7 separate regions of the Homo sapiens genome follow, and regions 2, 3, 4, 5, 6 and 7 are each linked to region 1. The links are contacts of gene promoters, found by promoter capture Hi-C in blood cells and fetal thymus (Javierre and others, 2016). All regions are on one chromosome and are shown on one strand. Each heading gives the region's core, a stretch centred on a gene start or on the middle of the fragment in contact. The rest is flanking DNA. Distances are from core to core; before and after follow the strand shown.

Region 1 (2,859 bases), core at 148-2,647:
GTAGACCAACCTTCATCTCATAGACAAGAAATCCGAGCCTCTGAAGGTTAGGAGATTTGTTTGGGGTTGCACAGTTAGTGTCAAACTGGGATGAAATCCCACGCTTTTCAACTTGCCAGCTTATCCTCTACCATGTTCCCTTGCTCTGTGGTTCTAGAAGCACGCTCATTCTTTTGTTTGAGCTACAAACCCCTGATCAGAAAGATGCCTTCATCTGTGAAAATAAAATATTGACTTTCATGATTAGTTCTCTATTCAGGATTTCATATCATTAGTCAGCATTAAGTCACAGTACCTTGTCAAACTTCAAGTAATAAGAGTTTCTGGGGAGAATTTCATTTTCTTTGACGTGGCTTCTGTTGTGGTATCAACAATATCACTCATTTAAATTTTAAAATAGATTACCATCATGAAATCTATCAGGCCCTAAAAATTGTATACTCTTTGACTTAGTAACTCTACTACAAGGAACCCATCCTACAAAAGAAAAAAGGTCAGAGATGCAGCCAAAGACTTATACTCAAAATGATCAATTGCAGAATTATTTTTCTTAGTGAAAAAAGTCAAACATGTTAATGGTGGATTATTAAGCGGCTCTTAAAAATTATATTTTCAAATAATTTTAATGATACAGAAAATACTATTACTATAACGTTAAGTAAAAAAGGGAAATTAAACTGTGTTTTCAACTTTATCTCAATTGTCTAAATATAAATATATGGGCACATTTTTGAGAGAGTAGAGAGATACTCAAATGCCAGTTATTTATAATCAATGACTTCAGTTATCTTCTGTGTATTTCTAAATATTCAATAATGAGCTACTTTTGTAATTAAAGAAGTAAATAATTTTAAATGATTATCACTGAAATTCAATAGTCAGCCTCAGGTGTTGGGAGTACCCCAAACACTGAGGTACTCTGTTCTAAGCCCAGGGCTGGAAGAACCCTCTCACTACTACATATTAACGTGACCAAGGTCCTAAGTGAACCAAATTCTCAGTTAAGTTTTAACCAGTAAATGCATGCAATTACTTAAGATCCTTCATTTCTCTATATAAAGGAGGTATTTCTGAATACAAATTGACTTAGGATATGTATGGATAAGAATAAAAGACAAGCCATGGAAAATTAAAAAACATAGTGAGTGAAGTAAGTACTACAAAGAGAGAGAAACACACACACCCAAATCCCAAAACAAAAACAAACAAAACCAGGAATTTGCCAACAAATCAATAGTAAACTTTACTTAACAGTCAAAATCCTCTGACAGAGACACAAATCACAAGGAAAGATTAAATTTGTCCGGAGAGAGAAAAATCTTACCTTGGAGCCCATGTTGGTGTGAGGCACTCAGTGAGGTATTGGCAGCTGTTAGCAAGACAGCAGGGACACTGTTCTCTGAACGTGGATGTGCTGTTGGATTTATTGCCTCCTGTTATCTGAGGATTCTGTGTATGTGTGTGTGTGTGTGCCTTTGTCCACAAAGATTTAATTGCAACCTCCAACAGGGTTCATTCAGACCCTTAGCTCCCTGCGTCAAAGGCAGGAAGGCAGGGCTGGAGAGGATAAAGAGAGGGCAGATATTAGCCTAAGCAAAGAGGCACTGGACTGTACTGTTTTGCATCTGTGCTTATCTATCATCGAACTCTTTAACTCTTGCCTGGGTCTGAATACAAATTGGAAGCCAAGATGGAACCAGTGTGCAGTTCCTGTTCCTTGCTACTTAGTCAAAGTGGCTCCATGTACCCCAATTAGCTTCCTGGAAAGAAACAATGTATGTTGTTCTCAAGCCATAAAAACCCAACATCTGTGGCCTCTGTAAAGGCTTAGATTATGCACTGTGTCTTCACATCTCAATACTGGCTCAGTGCCTGATACATGGTAGCATCCAATAAATATTTCTTGCATGGATGACTGGATGGTTAACTACAGGAGAAAGTGCAGTTCCTTGTGGGATCTTGAGAGGCTCTAATGATCTATATTATTCTGACATTAAACCATTGGTGGCTCAAAGAACATAAGCAATTTATGAAAAAGCAAATACACTTTACGAGCAAGAGCAGTGCAGAGATTTCCTATTTGTGGAACTGGTGGGCCCCTCCTAATTGTGGGAATTAACTAGGGAACTTTCGATTTAACGCTAAAAAAAAAGAAAATAGTTTTTTAATTTTATTTTTTTTATTTTTGAGACAGAGTCTCGCTATGTCACCCAGGCTAGAGTGCAGTGGCATGATCTTGGCTCACTGCAACCTCCACCACCTGGGTTCAAGCAATCCTCTAATCTCAACCTCCTGAGTAGCTGGGATTACAGGTGCATGCCACCATGCTCAGCTAATTTTTGTATTTTCAGTAGAGACAGGGTTTCACCATGTTGGCCAGGCTGGTCTCGAAGTCCTGACCTCAAGTGATCCTCCTGCCTTGGCCTCTCAAAGTGCTGGAATTACAGACGCGAGCCACAGCGCGCGGCCTAGATGGAAACAGTTTTAAAATGTAAACCTAGAGCGAGAAATAGGGATAGGAAACAAAGACATCAGCAGAATGTATTCATCGCTATAGTTTGCTGCTGTAACAAATTACTACAATCTGGTGGCTTAAAACAACACGTATTTAGTATCTTGCAGTTCTGGAGGTCAGAAGTCCAAAATACATCACACCGGGTTAAAATGAATGTGTCGGCAGGGCTGCATTCCTTCTGGAGATTCTGGGGGATGGTTGTTTCCTTGCCTTTTCCAGCTTCCAGAGATCTCCTGCATTTCTTGGCTCCTAGCCACTTTTACCCTCAAAGCTAGCAGCAATGCATATTCAACTCTCCCTCTGACTCTGAGCCTTCTGCCTCCCTCTTTCACTTGTAAGGACTC
Region 2 (2,859 bases), core at 233-2,732, 830 kb before region 1:
TTGGGAGGCCGAGGCGGGTGGATCACAAGGTCAGGAGATGGAGACCATCCTGGCTAACACGGTGAAACCCCGTCTCTATTAAAAATACAAAAAATTAGCCAGGCGTGCTGGCAGGCGCCTGTAGTCCCAGCTACTCGGGAGGCTGAGGCAGGAGAATGGCGTGAACCCAGGAGGCGGAGCTTGCAGTGAGCTGAGATCGCACCACTGTATTCCAGCCTGGGCAACAGAGTGAGACTCTGACTCAAAAAACAAAACAAAAAAAAACAAAAACAAAAACAAAAATAAACTCTTGATTTTATGCTATTAATTCTTCATTTTCATCTTTACCATAAAAATTGAGTCCTGACAATGTTCTGTTTGTTGGAGCTTTCTGGTTTATTTGGAATTAAAGACACTTGGCATTTGTTTGACTGTACAACCCTACCATTATTATTATTATTTTGAGATGGAGTCTTGCTCTGTCGCCCAGGCTGGAGTGCAGTGGTGAGATCTTGGCTCACTGCAACCTCTGCCTCTCGGGTTCAAGCGATTCTTCTGCCTCAGCCTCCTGAGTAGCTGCGATTACAGGCACCCACCATCATGCCTGGCTAATTTTTGTACTTTCGTAGAGATGGGGTTTCACCATGTTGGCCAGGCTGGTCTTGAACTCCTGATCTCAGGTGATCCGCCTGCCTCAGCTTTCCAAAGTGCTGGGATTACAGGCCTGAGCCACCGCCTCCAGCCTATAACCCTACTTATAAACAAAGGGAATATTAAGTTAGAAGCCAGTATCAACTGTTTCTCAAAGCAGTTTGAAAAGTGAACATAATTCTTCTCATTTGACAGACAGACTCTGGGGGAAGCATATTTTGTAACCATGTAATACTGATGTTGTCAGCAGCACCTTTTTGTAACCCAGTTGCTTATGTAGATTTGAACTGTCATACTTCTAAGTTTAACGGTAGTTATTATTTTTCATACTATCTTTTGGCCAATCAGATGGGGTACACCCCCAGATCCATTTGGGATTTTCACTGATTACAGAGGGTTATTCTGACTTGATGTCTGCAGGAAGTCCACTAGCTTCTGATGTTATTAGCTTTCAGTTTTTCTTTTTTGGAAGCTTTTGCATAAATATTCATGGCAGTTTTTATGTTTAAATAGAGCAGATATGAGGCAGATAAGATTGCTTTAACTCTGCTCATAGAGCTCCAGCAGCTGTAAGAATTTCTGTAATGTGGCAGATGGATGATGACCGTAGTGGCTGTTATGCGTAAGAGCATACATATGTTCTCTCTGGGAGACCCTGAGGAAGGAGCAGGCTTCAGACGTGGAGATGACATGCATTTGGGTCCCTGTCCTCCTACCTATTAACAGGTCAACTTAGGCCAGGTGTGGCGGCTCACACCTATAATCTCAGCACTTTGGGAGGCTGAGGTGGGAGCGTCACTTGAGCTCAGGAGTTTGAAACCAGCCTGGGCAATATAGTGAGACCTTGTCTCTACTAAAATTAAAAAAAATTTAGCCAGGTGTGGTAGTGCATGCTTGTAGTCCCAGCTACTTTGGGGGACTGAGGTGGGAGGATCACTTGAGCCCAGGAAGTTGAGGCTGCAGTGAGCCCTGATCATGCCACCGCACTTCAGCCTGGGAACAGAGCGAGACTCTGTCTCAAGAACAAAAACACAATGACCAATAAAACAGGTTACCTTACCTCTTTGGTAAAGGGATAAGGCCTATTTTGACACCTAATATGAAGGTCAATGATGTATTAGACTTCAAAGTGCTTTATAAGCAAAAATTATACAGGTAGGAGGGTCATTTTCTTCCCTTTTTTGGTATAGAGATAACTAAAGAGTATATTTCCTGGGTCATAGCAGCATATGGAAGCTTCAGAGAGGACATGGTACCCTCTTTGAAAAGCCTCTTCATCCTGCCTCTAGGAGTGCTTCAAAGAGGCAGTGGTATTACTGAGGTATACCCTCTGATATTGCCATCATAAGTCATTACTTTTGAGTCCATTAATCATCTAGTTTTTTTTTTTTTTTTTTGAGACGGAGTCTTGCTCTGTCACCTAGGCTGGAGTACAGTGGCAGCATCTTGACACACTGCATCCTCTGCCTCCTGGGTTCAAGCAATTCTCTTGCCTCAGCCTCCTGAGTAGCTGGGACTCCAGGTGCGCATCATCACGCCCGGCTAATTTTTGTATTTTTAGTAGAAATGGGGTTTCACCATGTTGGCCAGGATGGTCTGGATCTCTTGAGCTTGTGATTTGCCCACCTCAGACTCCCAAAGTGCTGGGATTACAGGCGTGAGCCACCACACCTGGCCTCTAGCTGTTTTTTTTTTTTTTTTTTTTTAATAAAGGAAATAACTTTTGGATCCCACATTTTCACTCTATTACTTGTGCATATCATGGATTTGTAGAACGTGTAAGTGTATCTAAATGAGCCTGCTTTCTGCAAGTTTTAAGTTTTTCATGTTATTTTAACCCTTTAGAATAATGGCAAAATCTTGGTTCACCTTGAAAAGTAGAATTTTTATAAATGTGGTTCTTAGTATGTGTGAATAGCTTTAGAGTTTACAGTATGTTTTAGACACATTGAATAGAAGTGTTTAAATAGAAGGATTCATCTCTCGAGTGGTTTTTCAACTAATTTTTTTTTTTTTTTTTTTGACACGGAGTCTCACGGTCACCAGGCTAGAGTTCAGTGGCACAATCTTAGCTCACTGTAACCTCTGCCTCCCAGGTCCAAGTGATTCTCCTGTCTCAGCCTCCCGAATAACTGGGATTAACAGGCATGTGCCACCATGCACCACCATGCCAGCTAATTTTTGTATTTTTAGTAGAGATGGGGTTTCACCATGTGGGCCAGACGGGTC
Region 3 (2,859 bases), core at 212-2,711, 810 kb before region 1:
AGCTTTTGTTTGTGTGGAAAAATCTTTCTCTTTCCTTTTCTGAAGGAATACTTTGCTGTGTGCAGTATTCTGGGTTGCATTTTTTTTTTCCTTCAGTCTCAGCATGTATCATCTCACTTCTTTCTGGCCTATACGGTTTCTTCTGAGAAGTCTGCTGCTGGGTGTATTGGATCTGTCTTACATGTTATTTGCTGCTTTTCTTTAGCTGCTTTTAGGATCCTCTATTTGTCTCTGCACTCTGAGGGTTTGATTATAATATGTCTTGGGGTATTCCTATGTAGGTTGAATCTGACTGGTGACCTTCGATCATCCTATGCTTGGCTATTAATTTTTTTCCAGGTTTGGAAAGTTTTCTGTTATTATTTCTTTGCATAAGCATTTAACCCCTTTGTCTTCCTGAATTCCCTCTTTAATAACTCCAATATTTACTCTTTTGATGTTGTCCCACAGACCCCATAAGCTTTCTTCATGTCATTGTTTTCTTTTTTATCTCTGTGTATTTTCAAATAGCCTGTCTTCTGGCTCACTAATAAGTGTACTGTTGAAACCCTCTATTGCATTTTTCATTTTATTCATTGCATTTTTCGGCTCCAGGATTTGATTTTTTAAAATTACTTCAGTCTTTCTGCTACATTTCCCTGATAAATTTTTGAATTGACTCTGTTCTTTCTTGAAGTTTGTTGAGCTTTCTTAAAACAGCTATTTTGAATTGTTTCAGAGATCACACATCTCTATGACTTTAGGCTTGACCTGTGGTATCTTATTTTGTACACTTGGTGAGGTCATATTGTCCTGAGTCTTCTTGATGCTTGTGTATGTGTGACAATATCTGCACATTTAAGGATTAGGCTTTTATTCCACTCTCCACAGCCTGGCTTTATTTGTGCCTGTCTTTCAGAGGCCCTTCCAGAAATTCTAAAGCAACTTAGAATTCTTAAATTGTTTCCTGAGCCTGTGACCACTGCAGCCATCTCAGCACTAGAGGGCGCTCCAAGTCCAGGCTTGCTGCAGCTCTCCCAAGGGCTCTATGATTTACACAGCTCTCCCTCCCTGATGGACCTGAGGAAGAACTCAAGGAGGGTACAGGGGCTGTGTGGGAAAGCTGGTCAGGGACTCCAGTACAGAAGACTGTTTTAATGACCCAGACAAGTGTGTCTCCTAGTGCATCCCTGCAGGGAATGGATACTTCCTTGGCTTTAGTGGTGGGAGGGGATGGAGCTGATATTGGACCCCATCAGCATCTGTTTTTGGAGAGTGGCTGGAGAGCACATCTCATTGGCTCAGATAGACGCTTGTCTCCCAGCAGGTGCCTCTACAGACAGGATAGTTCACTGACTGCAGTGGTGTTGTTGTGTTTAAATTGAATTCTGCTCAAAATTAGTACGCTGTTGAGTAGGACTTGGAAGTCTGTTTATTACATTGCAAGGTTACTCTTTGTAGTAGAAATTGACTTACATCCTAGAACTTAGGTTCTGCTACTGAATCTATTTCAAAATGATTCTGCTGCCTGTATCTTTGTCTTTTCAAACTTCAAATACTCTTCTTCCTTTTACTTTGTATTTCTTTACTTTTTTTTTTTTTTAGCAGAACTAAATGTCATCAAAGTGTGGAAGAGGATAAAGCAAGTCAGGGAGGTTAGTGGAAAGAGAAGAGAAAATCAAATAATGCAAACATTAGGAAAGAAATCTATCTTATTGCATTTGATTTCTATTGTTTGCAAATACCTGCTTTCCAGGAAAATGTGCTGGGGTAAAAGTGTATTTTGCCTTTTAATGCTTATTTTCTCAGATGTTAATTGGAAGTTAATGGAGCTTATAATTCCTATACAAATGAACTTAAATCTGTGTGTTAACACAGCAGTGGCTCATTTCTATAACTAGCCCTTTAAGACTGGAAGCACAAGTGACAGATTTATATTCCTTCCTCTTCTGCCCTTGAGGAGGTGTATAATGGTAGTGTGTCAGGGCTCCAGCCTCCTGTTAGCTGAGGTCATTGAATTAGATCTGGAAATGTGTATAATTCCCTCTCCCTCCCATTCTCTCTCTCCCCCCACCCCCACACACACATGTGTATATATATATATATGTATATATATTTGCATGTATAAAGCACCTCTGGTGTCTACAGACATGCATGTATATATATGCATGTATATGTATGTGTGTGTGTATATATATATATATATATATGACTTTTGAGGGCATTATTTTCAAATTAGTTAAATCTAACTTGAAAAACTTTTATAAATAACAGAAATCAGGGAGTGGTGAGGACACTGTCCAGCTCTGCCCAAGAGGACATCATCCGGTGGTTTAAAGAGGAGCAGCTACCACTTCGAGCGGGCTACCAGAAAACCTCAGACACCATAGCCCCCTGGTTCCATGGTGAGTGCAGAGATTTCCTCAATGGTGTTTCGTCTTAGGGCGGATGAAGCTGTGCTAATCTACCAGGAAGCCAGAATAAAAGCTTCCATTTATTGGTGCTGCCCAAAAAGAGTCTTTCAGATTATTTCACAAAGCAGTTTTTCAAAGACGCCTCAGTAAGCTGCATTCTCATGACTGTTTAGAAAGCAGTCAGCATTCATGGGCACTGTATGCACTGTGGGGCAGACTTATCACCACAAATAAAATGCATCAGATGGGAGGGCAAAGAGGCATTCCTGGTGACTTACCACTAGGGTGCTTGTTTGTGACTTCCATCAAATGGCCACGTCTTCCTTTCACCGAGGGACACACAGTCATGGGTGTGGGAATGTGCTGGACAGGACACTGGCTGAGCAACCTTGAACAAATCATTACTTTTTCCGTAGGAAATCAATTTAAGCCTCATTTTCCCCATCTGTTAAATGAAGGAGTTGAA
Region 4 (2,859 bases), core at 263-2,762, 790 kb before region 1:
ATGGCGAAACCCCATCTCTATGAAAATTGGCCAGGCATGGTGGCACGTGCTTGCAGTCCCAGGTACCCAGGAGGTTGAGGCTGCAGTGAGCTGAGATTGTGCCACACTGCTCCAGCTTGGGCAATGGAGTAAGACCCTGTCTTAAAAAAACAAATAAAAATTACTGCTTTTCTCTAGCACAGAAATCCTCCTATGACATCAGGTTTGGTTTCTTTAAGCTGTGCAGAGAGGGCAGGTCAGAGGGAAGCAGCACCAATGTGTCATAGCCTTTAGGGGCTGGGATGAAGACCCCTGCTTCAGAATTCTTAGAGTTGTGCAAAGGGCAATGCAGGGGACAAGTACCGTTAGGTTGACTGAGGCCGGGTGCAGTGGCTCACGCCTATCATCCCACTATCATCCCAGCACTTTGGGAGGCCGAGGTGGGCAGATCATTTGAGGCCAGGAGTTTGAGACCTGCCTGGCCAACATGGTAAAACCCTATCTCTGCTAAAAATACAAAAATTAGCTGGGCATGGTAGTGGGCTCCTGTAATCCCAGCTACACAGGAGGCTAAGGCATGAGAATCGCTTGAACCCAGGAGTCAGAAGTTGCAGTGAGCCGAGATCGCACCACTGCACTGCAGCTTGAGTGACTGTTTAAAAAAAAGAAAACGTGGAATAAGTCCTCAGTAATCAATATCTAACATTAGATTTTGGTTTTGTGCTCAAGAATTCCCTATCCCAGCAGATGAACCTCATTGCTTGGCAGTAATCACAGCCAGGACACCCCAAATGCACACAGTGCCCCTGATGGATTCATGACAGATGGATTCATGACAAACTGTACATTGACCTGTGTATTTAGCTGCACCAAGCCAGTTTGCTATTAAGGAATAGTAATCCTCTTACAAAGCAAAAAAAGCAAAGACAAACTACCACTTGGATCATTCAAAGCCTAGGCTCCAGGGCACTGCCCTTTGGAACCTGCCCTCTGTCCCATGGTGTACAAGGAGTCTCCACTATGACCTGTGCTTTGCCATCAACATGATTGATTGGGTCCTGGTGTCCCAGGAGATTAGATGGCACCAAGATCTATGCGTAAGGCTAAGGGGCTTTTGGAAAGTTTCAGTTACAGTCACTACGACCTCATTTTAAAAGGAATTTGACCTTACTTAGCCGAGGTTTGGTTATAAATTTCCAGAATAGCTTTAATTTTAGGAATCCAGATTCATCTGGATAATTTCCAGATGTCATAAATTGTAACACCTGCCCCATCTGTTGAAACAGCCTGGAATTTCATAGTGAGCCGTCAGCCTAGGAGGAGGGAGAGATCTTTTTCCAAGATGCTGCTTCTCCTCCGGTCGTGGCTCCTTGTTTCTGAAGGGGACTTTTCAGGGTCATTGAAAACATCCCTGGGTTTCGGAGTCAGTCTCATACAGTGTCTTTAGAGATTTGCCATGTGCAGTCCCCGCATGGGCTGGTACCTGGCGCCTTGTTTCAACGTATGGTTGTCATTTGTAATTTATCAATGGGACCAGGTATGCTTAGGAAGGGGAAATAGACAAACAGAAGGAGCAGCCCGTATCTGTTGGAACTTAGCCATGATTTGAGTACCTCATGGGGATAGTGGAGCATCTGAACCAAGAGGCTTTCTGTGTCCATGGTACCTACGGTGTTCCATGGGTCTGTCTCAGCAGGGAAGGGGTGGAAAAGCGACTGGACATGATACATGCAATGCATGTGCATCAGTCGTCTGCTGGGAATGAGTGTAATAGAGCCACTGCCCCTAGGAGCAAGGCCCTGGTCTGTTTCGAGGATGTTGACTATCTGCAAGTCGGGGAGACTGGCCTTTTCACCCACTCCCAGCTCTTACCTGGAGGTCTCACACTGGGTTGACCTTCATACACTGGGACTCTGCAGTGGGACACCTGGGGTCTGTGTTCTCCTAAATAGGAAGCAGGAGAAGGTCTGGTTGGATGATCTTGGCTAGAAGAAAACAGACAATTTTTAAAATCCTCCTGTCATTCAAGGGTCTGTTTACAGAAAAGAGAACAGACATGGTTTTATTTTACTCTGGAGAGAGTTCACTTCTCAATTAGCTGTACTAACAAGACAAAAGGGCTATGGCAGCCCCTTGCCTTTTCCTGAGGTGGTTCTGTTATTGTTTTGTTTTCCTGATAATAAGGTACTGAGTATCAACAGGGAGCCAACAAGAGAAGGCAAGAGCTTTGCTGAAATGAAAAAGGGCACGCGTAGAACGCTGCTCCTCCCTCCCAGATCTCAGCTCACTGAATAATTCATTGACTTCCCCATCTTTCCAAGATGCGTTTCTACTCTGTGAGTTTTACAGCATTATCTATTCATTGATGGATTATGATGGGAATAAAAAATTTGGAACATGAGTCAGACCTCATGAGTTTGGACTAACTGGGGAAAAGGCTGGTCTGGAGTAAGAGTGTGAATTCCTGAGGCATCTAAGCTATGTCTATATATAACTTCATATGTGTATATAAAGACACACATATAGTTTTATTCCTTTAAATGCCAGTGTAGTGTCATTTAGCAATAGCTACAGGCTAAGGTACTTTATAGAACTGAGTAGAACTGAGTCTGACTTGGCTCTGTCACTAAATTACTGAGCCTCCCACACCAGGGAGTCTCAATTTCAGCACTACTGCTATCTGGGGCTGGATAATTCTCTGCAGTGTGGGGCTGTTCTGTGTCTCATAGGCTGTTTAGCAACATCCCTGACCTCTAACCCCATCCTCCATCCATGACAACCAAAGATGTCTCTCGGACACCTTTGTCCGAGTGGTTGAGAACCACTGTCCTAGACCAAGTCAAATCACTCCCCAGGCCATTGAGTCCTTGTTGGTAAACT
Region 5 (2,859 bases), core at 360-2,859, 700 kb before region 1:
GTGAGTAGTGCTGCAATGAACATATGGGTGCCTGCGTCTTTACAATAGAACAATTTCTTTTCCTTTGAGTATTTTAAACAAACCTAGCAAAGAGCATAGTTGCTGACCCATCATTGGGAATTTCTAGTTCCCTGAGGTTCAGTGATCTGGAGTGTCCAGCAATGAAGAAGTAAAACGTGTATTTACAGACAAGGGCTCATTTCTCTTCTCATTTCCTATCCCTACCAGGCTCACTCCAGCAGTGAGTTGCCTTTAAGATTAGAAGCCACACCAACAACACTGGGAGGAAAAACGAGGAATATTTCTTCTTTCTAAACAGTTACTCTAAAGTTTCCACCCGGCATCAACACCAGGCAATATCGACTCATTCCCCTCTTGTGCCCTGCTGTTTTGGCTCTCCTACGAGAGTGAGGGATCCTAGGTCTGTGTACTTCTCAAGTTCCAATTGCATGAGGTCATCTGCCCGTCCAAGTGCCTAAAATGTTGTCTACTGCTGGAAATATCACAGTGTAAGTCTTTTTCCAAGTTTTAAAGGCTGTAATTAATCAGGCATTAGCTTTACAATGACCAGTTCTTATGTGCGGCTAATAAAACCATCCTTCATCTTTCCAGTCACATCTTACTCCTTTCTAACTTTATTTTGCCACCGTGCCAGTCTTCTCATTTCCTGAATGCCTTGTGCCCATCGACCTCTGTGCCCTGGGTGTCTGTCCTTATAGTCTGCCCCATACTCCTGGTTGGCACCTTGCTAGTCACGGTCCTGTTTTAATCTTCATGTGTCTACGACGTCTCATTTTCCCAACTCAGAGTAGAAATTACATCTTATTCAAAAATCTTGACTACATCCTAGGGCCTAACAAATGGGAAGGTGCTTAGCAGGTGCTCGATAAACACCTGTGGACAGGAGTGACTTTATATAAAGATCACAGGTCTTTAGCTAAGTACCCTGCCCAAGATCTTCATCAAAGTCTACCCAAACCTCCTCTTGAGCTCAAAATCACAGTGGGGACACACTTAAGAACACCCTAGAACCACCCTGTGAAAACAAAGTCCCAAACTGGAGATAAGCACACATCCTTATGGTCAAAATTTTATAATCAAAATGACATCATAGTCGTTTCTGTATCCTCAATGCCTCCCTCTCTGGCTTTTCTACCCGGGCCATAGAAAAAAGTGCTGAGCTCATGTTGCTGTGATTATACCACAGGTGACAGGACTAGAACACATCCCAGAGTAACCCAGACTTAAGCCAACAAACATGTATCAAACCCATCTTATGTGCAAAGCTAAAACTTATGGAGATACAGAGATAAAACAGTATTTTCTCAACTGAAGCAACTTTTGAATACTTAGAAGTACTCAAAATAATTTAAGGGTTTCAAAATGCTGGCAGGAGTGCAGGGGGCTTTTTTTTCCATATACTGCAGCTACTCAATAGGACATAGGCAAACACACCGATGCTTTCACGTTATCAGCTCTTTCCATCAAATCGCTCATGACTCCGATTAAATACACACACAGCCCTACTCCTGAGTATACACACTAGAGCTCAGCACAGCTACCGCTCCTACCATTTCCTTCCTCTCTTTCAGCGCTGAGCACCTAGATCAGCGCTGGGAAACAGAATGTTCGGTGATAATGGACATGTTCTTAATCCATTTTGTCAAACGGCTACTGTACACTTGAAATGTGGCTAGTGAAATTGAGGACATACATTTTTAATTGTATATGATTTTAATTAATTTTTGTTTAAAATAAGCACATGCAGGGAGCAGCACTGTGCTGGACAGTGCCGTTTTAGGCTCTGTAACCAACATCAGAGGACTTTTTCCTTTTCTTGTCCCACGGCAACCTTATTTCTGCCCCTACCACTCCACTGATGATGTTCTCTCCCCAATCCAGGCCAGCAATGACTTCTTCTGCTACATCCAATAGATCCTGTAAATTCTTATCTCGTACTGCCTTTCTCAATATTCGATGCTAATGCCCACACTCTCCATCTAAAGCCGCTTTCTCTCCTTGTGTTTTGAGTTACCAAATCCTTCTGACTTTCTGCCTCCCTCTTTGGCTGTTCCTTTATAATTTCCATCACGGGTGCCCTTCCTCTGCCTATAACATAATTGTGGGTGGTCCTCAAAGTTCCGATCACAGATCGCTTTTCACTCTCAATGTTTCTACGGAAAATCTCATCCATCTCCACAGTTTAAATTTGCATCAATAAGTCCTAACCCCTTAGCTCCAAATTTGATTTTTATTTTGAGCTCCAAACCCATATTCCAACTGTCTTGGCCCTCTCCCTTTATGTGTCCCAGAGACAGCTCAAAGTCACCCCTACAACTAAGCTGATCATCTCTCCTGGTCTAGTTCTTCCTCTTCTGAGGAGCAGTGAGTGGCATTAGCATTAAATGAGCTGAGCTTCATCCTTCACACCTCCCTCTCCATCCCACATCCAGTATACAGTGACATTCACATAGATGTTTACTATTATTTATTATCTGATCAATTACCAAGCCCCATGGGTTCTGATCCCTCAGGGTCTCTGGAATCACCCACTTCTCTTATCCCTAATTCTGCTACCACAAATGAAGCTGGTAACGTCTCAGCCTGGAATTACAACAACAGCTCTTTGTCCCTCTAGGCTGAGTCCCTCCAATACATTCTCAACAGAGCAGACAAAGCAATATTTCTAAATATAATTCTAATAATGTCACCCTTCTGTTTAAGCCCTTCAATGGCTCCCTGGTTTCATTAAGACAAAGCCCAAAGGCATGTGAAGTTAAAGCACTTCATTATGTCTGGTTCTCAGTGATATCCCCAAGTTTCATCTCAACATGCCCTGACCCCAAACTCAATGCTCCA
Region 6 (2,859 bases), core at 257-2,756, 660 kb before region 1:
GCAGTGTTGACATGAACTGGAGAGGAAAGACTGGCACTGGGGACACTAGATATGAGGCTATTACAATGTTCTAAATAAAGGCCAGGGAAGACTTAAACCCAGGCTACAGCACTAAAGACAGAGGAAGTACACCAATTACATGAGGAGAAAAAAAAGCTATCCATCAAGAGTAGGGCCCAGGGGGCCGGCACGGTGACTTACGTCTGTAATCCTAGCACTCTGGGAGGCTGAAGTGGGTACATCACTTGAGGTCAGGAGTTTGAGAACAGCCTGGCCAACATGGTAGAAACCCATCTCTACTAAAAACACAAAAATTATCCAAGCTTGGTGGTGTGCGCTTGTAATCCCAGCTATTCAGGAGGCTGAGGCAGGAGAATTGCTTGTACATGGGAGGCGGAGGCTGCAGTGAGCCGAGATCACACTACTAGACTCCGTCTCCAAAAAAAATAAAAACAAGAAGAAGAAGAATAGCGCCAGGGTTTAACATGTACATTTCTGAGGATGGAGCTGCCACTGAAAAATAACACACACAAGAGAAGTTCTAGGAGAAAGACAAGTTTGGTTTCATGGACCTGCAAACTTTGCTCTGCCTGCAGGAATGGAAGATAAGAGAGGGGGACTTTGAAAACAGAGCTCTGCTGGCATTCTTCAAATTACTGCACAGGCAAGCATCTGCTCTACCAATCCCTGCGTCGTGGTAAGACTTCATGTGTCCATTTGTTCTGACGTTGTAAGTTGCTTCCACATCTTGTATTTCCCTTTCTCCTAGCAGTCAATGCAGTGGTTGACATTACAGGCTCTGAGGTTGAGACCATTTGAGCCCTGCAGTTGTTTGGTTTCTTGAAGCCTTTGTCTCCCAGACCTGAGGAGCACAGAAAGGCTTGTCTTATAGAGTCCTCATGACGTACTCAGCATAGTGCCTGTAACAGAGTTAATATGAAATCAGTGTGAGCTAAATTAAGGTCAAAACCGTATTAGTGAGAGAAATGTGGCATGGACATCACTTTGCTGATGAGAAAACTACCACCAAGAAATAAATGGTTGGTGTGTATACACAGGTACAGAGCTGGTAGAAAGCACAGTAAGAACCAGAACTCAGAACTCGAGACTCTTCATCTCTTGCCTCTAAATTTGCACTTTCCAAATTTTAAATCAAAATAACTCACGTTCTTACCTCTCCAGATCCATTTATTTTAAGAAAAGAAAACCATAGTAAATTTGAAAAACTCTCTCTAAAATGCCATTTAAACTAAGTGGTACAGATTCCATTAGGGATCCTGGGAGATTTTAAAAGGCGATGTATGTAAAATGCTTAGCCCAGTGTCCTGGCACAGTGGAGGAGGACATTAGGTCTGGGGACAATAGATTCCATAGTTGTACACATGGGGCTGCAAGCAGCAGAAGCATTTTTCTGCACCAGCAACTTACCAGAAGGACTCTGGGTACACCTTGGTGAAGTTCTGACCTGCAAAGTCACTCTTCAAGTGGCAGCAAGCACATTTGGGAGAAATCTCAAAACCTCCTAAGTTATTTTTAAATTGCAATTTTCCAGTAGCTCAAAATATGATTCAATACACTAACGTTCTAATTTCAGCTACTGGTACTAGACACATTCCCAAGGCTCAAAAAAAAATTTAAACAATAAAAGATTCTTCCCAAAGTAAGGCTGCAAGATGTCTGTGGTGAGCGGAGTTTCCTGATTCCCTCTTCAAACTGCATGCTACTATCCTGACATATAACAAGGCTCAGTTCAAGGCTGCCTAGGAGAGGCATAAAATGCCTCCATGTGAAAGATAAGTTGGAATATGATCCTTTTGAATACACTCGTGTGAAGCTGCAACAATTGCGGACATTACCACCACTGCATTGCAAAAATCTACAAGGAACAAGACCATCAGAGTTCCATCTCACGTAACAGTGACCTACACTGAAGCAAGCACCTGTGAAAGAGGGGCGGGGCACCACCTTCTCATGCCACACCCACCTCGCTCTATAGGAAAGGTGGCATGTAAGATGTTCCTCAACAGCATTATCACACAGTACTATTTTTACTTACTTATTTGGAGACAGGTTCTCACTCTGTCACCTAGGCTGAAGTGCAAGGGCGCGATCATGGGTCACTGCAGTCTTGAACTCCAGGACTCAAGCCATCCTCCCACCTCGGCCTCTGGAGGAGCAGGGACTACAGATGCATGACATGATGCCCAGCTAATTTTTTTTTTTTACTTTTTGTGGAGACGTAGTCTTGCAATGTTGTCCAGGTTGGTCTTGGACTCCTGGGCTCCAGCGATCCACCCACCTTGGCCTCCCAAAGTGGTGAGATTACAGGCAGGAGCCACCACGCCCAGGCTACATGGTACTATTCACACCCAGGCTACATTGTACTATTAAAACAGAAAACAACTTTTCTAGCATTCAGTAAATAATGTTATAAACAATGTGAATTGTATTCACGTAATCATCAAATATCTATTAAATGCTTACTGCATGGAAGGGACCATACCAATTATCACAGGAGACAAACCGAAGGGTCAGCTGAGATCCCTGTCCTCACCAGGGTAATGGGGAGTGGCAAGGACAGTTCTAAAAACAATGTTTATGTCAAGGGAATGTGATCAGTCATTCGCGATATAAACAAAACAATGCCGTAGTTCAGAGGAGAGAAAGATCATCTGTTTGGAAGAATCACAGAAGCTTCTGCAGAGCCTTTCAAGTTGAGTATTATTTGTTAGGTAGAGATGGAAAAACTTGGGAGAATACCCAAATCATCATGGATATAAAATATGCAGCAGGGCCAGGCACAGTAGCTCACACCTGTAATCCCAGTGCTGTGGGAAGCTGAGGTGGGGGGATCACTTA
Region 7 (2,859 bases), core at 127-2,626, 580 kb before region 1:
GGAACCTGGGAAGCCCTTGTTTTCCCAGAACTGCTCCTTACTTTTATAGACTCAGGGCTTGAACATCCTTCAGCAGCAGAACTTCACCAGACTTGAAAGAAACCAACGTGCACATTGAGAAGACAGCAAATGAGTTGTTTCCTTTCTTTTTGGGCAGACAAACCTACCCCACACCCAGTGCATGCTTGGCAATCACAGGATCCCAGCAAGGGGAGTTAATTGTTCCATTCAAACATTTAGTAGCATTAGGCCATAAGTTGTGCAGTAGGGATAGCCTTGTGTGTTAAACATATCCTTCATAGAGCTTGCTCCACCATGGTTCATTCTTGGTCAATTGCTGCTCACCATTCATTCATTCATTCATTCATTCATTTAGAGACAGAGTTTGCTGTTGCCCAGGCTGGAGTGCAATGGCGTCATCTTGGCTCACTGCAACCTCCACCTCCCCTGTTCAAGCGATTCTTCTGCCTCATCTTCCCTAGTAGCTGGGTTACAGGTATGCACCACCATGCCTGGCTAATTTTTATATTTACAGTAGAGATGGGGTTTCACCATATTGGCCAGGCTGGTCTCGAACTCTTGACCTTGTGATCCACCTGCTTCGGTCTCCCAAAGTGCTGGGATTATAGGAGTGAGCCACCGCACCCAGCCTACTTCTCTATTTTGTAAAGTTTATTTTGACTGTTTTCTGGCATTATCTCAAGGTCTTACTAATTATGGTCTACATGGGGTTGTAATGACATTGCTCTCTTTTGTATCATCCAAGTAATTCTCAAAAACATTAAACATCACAAGGCCCAAGATTAGGACAGTTCCATACGCCCTTCAAGTTGACCCTGAATTACTTAAGCCTCTTAACCACTTGACTTTCTACTTAGGAAAGGATTTGGGAGGAATTCTCCTTCAGTTATTTTTGTTTGTATTATTAACTTTCAGCCAAGGTTTTTTTTATTTTTTCTATTGTTAGTAACTGAAATACAGTTCTTTATGAAACTCCACACACCCTCATTTAAGTACAGGGCAGTTCATTAATGCAAAATCAAATCATTAACTACTCTGGCTTCCATTATTTTATCTTAATAGTGTGACAAAAGTTTTTGGAAAAAAAAAAAAAGCAAAACCATCAAGCAAACCTCTATAGACATTTGTTAAATGAAGGAGGAAGGTGAAGGGGGCTTTCTGAAGATATGTATATGCTGAGTGCAGCTTACCTATTTTCATTTTTATGCCTATTGAATTACTTCTAGAAAAAAAAAAGACTCTCTGCTGAAGCTTGGAACCATATATACAGCTTCCTGTTTCATACCATCGCATGTCAACATTAATGATATTTTACAGTACTTGTTTTATTTTGTATTTTTTAAGTTTAGTCTTATCAGATGTAATAAAACATCTTATTGCATAGAAACTCAAAATTACTGGTTACAAGAGCAGAACTAAAACAACATTCCAGAGATTTTCATTTGTCCCCGGACTAAAACCAAGCTTCCAATCCGTAAGGGCACTATTCTCAAAGAGCTCTAGACAGTGTCCCTCTAAGACACCATATGTCAGAAAGAAAGCTCATTCTTCAATTTCCAAAACCATGGTATTTAAATAATTATTTTCTAGCAAAGTCAAAATTAGAGTACCTATTTGATGACAGGGTGACTATTTTAAAAAGCTCAGTATTCTGTCCCAATTTCCAATGGGAGAACAAATGTCCCTATGTAAGCGAACTGTTTCAAAAAGATGTAGCTCTTCCAGCTCTATGATTGGTTTAAGTCACTTGCCACTCTGAGAAGAGATAAATCCTTAAAAAGTTGGGAAAGTTAGATGTAGATGTAGATGTTACAGCCTTTAAAAAGTGAATGAAAAGGATTCAATGGAGCCAAGTAATTGTATTATTTTGGAAGAAGTATCATTCTCTTGAAGTAATAACTTGTTACTAATCAAGCTATTGACAGTAGAATGAAATTTCATACATTTCAAACACATCCAGAATATTGAACACAAAGCAGACCATGCAAAGGTTTGTTTCTTGAGTGAAAATGCTCACTTACCTGGGGGTTCAAGAAGGGAAGGTTAGGAGGTGGCTACATCATTGCTCCTCTGGGTCAAAATTACCTTGGCGTCTTTCCTTGAAATAGGAAGGCAGCTAAAATAAAATAAAAACAAAAGGCAACCCTTGTAAATTTCCATGTCTTAAATGTATGTGGTATTACAAAATGGGAACATTTTAAATCACTTAGTATATAAAATACAATGCATCTGAAAGTATTACCCCAAAAAGCAGGATGGTATTTGTTCTCTCCCTGTTTCAATGAATAAAATGCAAACTATTTGTTTAAAAAAAAATCAAGGCTTTAAACAGTGATAACCATGTCTAAAGGTGTCTAAAAATGAAGCTGAACATTTTCATGTGAAAAAGAGCAAATCAAAAAAGCCGATCTCGCAGGAAAGAAACGTGCCCAGCTGCCAGCGAGCCGCTTCCTAACTCGCAGCTCTGCTTCCAATGCTCTGACAGCGCTGAAGTCACACTGGGGTTTCCAGGTTGGGGTCAGGAGGGAAAGTGCTGCCCCCCTCTGCAAGGACTGTGTTCAGCGCCACCACTTAAAAAAAACGGTTTCATGAAATGAAATGTTAAAAAATAAAAAATTTCCTTTTTTCCCCAGAGAAGGTAAGAGCGCACACGCTGGAAAACGGTGGGAGCAGGGAGGAACGACCGCCTTCCCGAAGCACCGCAGGGTTCGCCGCACAACGCCGCTGGTGAGGACCGAGCGCATCTGCCCACAGCGCCCCAGCCGCGCCTGGAGCCTCCCGCTCCCCAGGGAGAACGGTGGGCGCGTCCCAGGGAACACGACACCCAAGGAGAGGGCG

What was found. Contacts are between HindIII fragments. The CHiCAGO score rates a contact against its expected background, and 5 or more counts as called.
Region 2: a contact is called between a fragment that was not itself captured here and the fragment with the promoter of SLC18A1 in region 1, in 1 of 17 cell types (total B cells). The highest score is 6.5, in total B cells.
Region 3: a contact is called between a fragment that was not itself captured here and the fragment with the promoter of SLC18A1 in region 1, in 6 of 17 cell types (neutrophils, monocytes, total B cells and 3 more). The highest score is 12.0, in neutrophils.
Region 4: a fragment that was not itself captured here is called in contact with the fragment with the promoter of SLC18A1 in region 1 in 1 of 17 cell types (neutrophils); the score reaches 5.6 in neutrophils.
Region 5: a contact is called between a fragment that was not itself captured here and the fragment with the promoter of SLC18A1 in region 1, in 1 of 17 cell types (neutrophils). The highest score is 5.6, in neutrophils.
Region 6: a contact is called between a fragment that was not itself captured here and the fragment with the promoter of SLC18A1 in region 1, in 1 of 17 cell types (neutrophils). The highest score is 5.0, in neutrophils.
Region 7: a fragment that was not itself captured here is called in contact with the fragment with the promoter of SLC18A1 in region 1 in 1 of 17 cell types (neutrophils); the score reaches 6.9 in neutrophils.

What each region holds. Positions count from the first base shown.
Region 1 is chr8:20,181,739-20,184,597 of GRCh38, forward strand. It overlaps SLC18A1 (solute carrier family 18 member A1), which reads right to left and starts at 1,398. Exons shown (of 16, transcript NM_003053.4): 1 at 1,325-1,398. The HindIII fragment of the contact is 10,670 bases long and covers 1-2,859 here.
Region 2 is chr8:19,351,360-19,354,218 of GRCh38, forward strand. All of the region lies in intron 4 of SH2D4A (SH2 domain containing 4A), which reads left to right. Among named protein-coding and RNA genes, the nearest start is that of SH2D4A, 39 kb to the left of the region's middle. The HindIII fragment of the contact is 764 bases long and covers 1,101-1,864 here.
Region 3 is chr8:19,371,277-19,374,135 of GRCh38, forward strand. It overlaps SH2D4A (SH2 domain containing 4A), which reads left to right. Exons shown (of 10, transcript NM_022071.4): 8 at 2,254-2,384. Among named protein-coding and RNA genes, the nearest start is that of SH2D4A, 59 kb to the left of the region's middle. RefSeq lists a silencer at 1,220-1,381. The HindIII fragment of the contact is 2,006 bases long and covers 459-2,464 here.
Region 4 is chr8:19,389,731-19,392,589 of GRCh38, forward strand. The region is part of intron 8 of SH2D4A (SH2 domain containing 4A); the gene reads left to right. Among named protein-coding and RNA genes, the nearest start is that of SH2D4A, 77 kb to the left of the region's middle. The HindIII fragment of the contact is 5,990 bases long and covers 1-2,859 here.
Region 5 is chr8:19,480,555-19,483,413 of GRCh38, forward strand. All of the region lies in intron 3 of CSGALNACT1 (chondroitin sulfate N-acetylgalactosaminyltransferase 1), which reads right to left. Among named protein-coding and RNA genes, the nearest start is that of SH2D4A, 170 kb to the left of the region's middle. The HindIII fragment of the contact is 4,312 bases long and covers 1-2,859 here.
Region 6 is chr8:19,521,220-19,524,078 of GRCh38, forward strand. All of the region lies in intron 2 of CSGALNACT1 (chondroitin sulfate N-acetylgalactosaminyltransferase 1), which reads right to left. Among named protein-coding and RNA genes, the nearest start is that of CSGALNACT1-AS1, 160 kb to the right of the region's middle. The HindIII fragment of the contact is 2,371 bases long and covers 322-2,692 here.
Region 7 is chr8:19,599,729-19,602,587 of GRCh38, forward strand. CSGALNACT1 (chondroitin sulfate N-acetylgalactosaminyltransferase 1) reads right to left here. Exons shown (of 9, transcript NM_001354483.2): 2 at 2,043-2,137. Among named protein-coding and RNA genes, the nearest start is that of CSGALNACT1-AS1, 77 kb to the right of the region's middle. The HindIII fragment of the contact is 213 bases long and covers 1,271-1,483 here.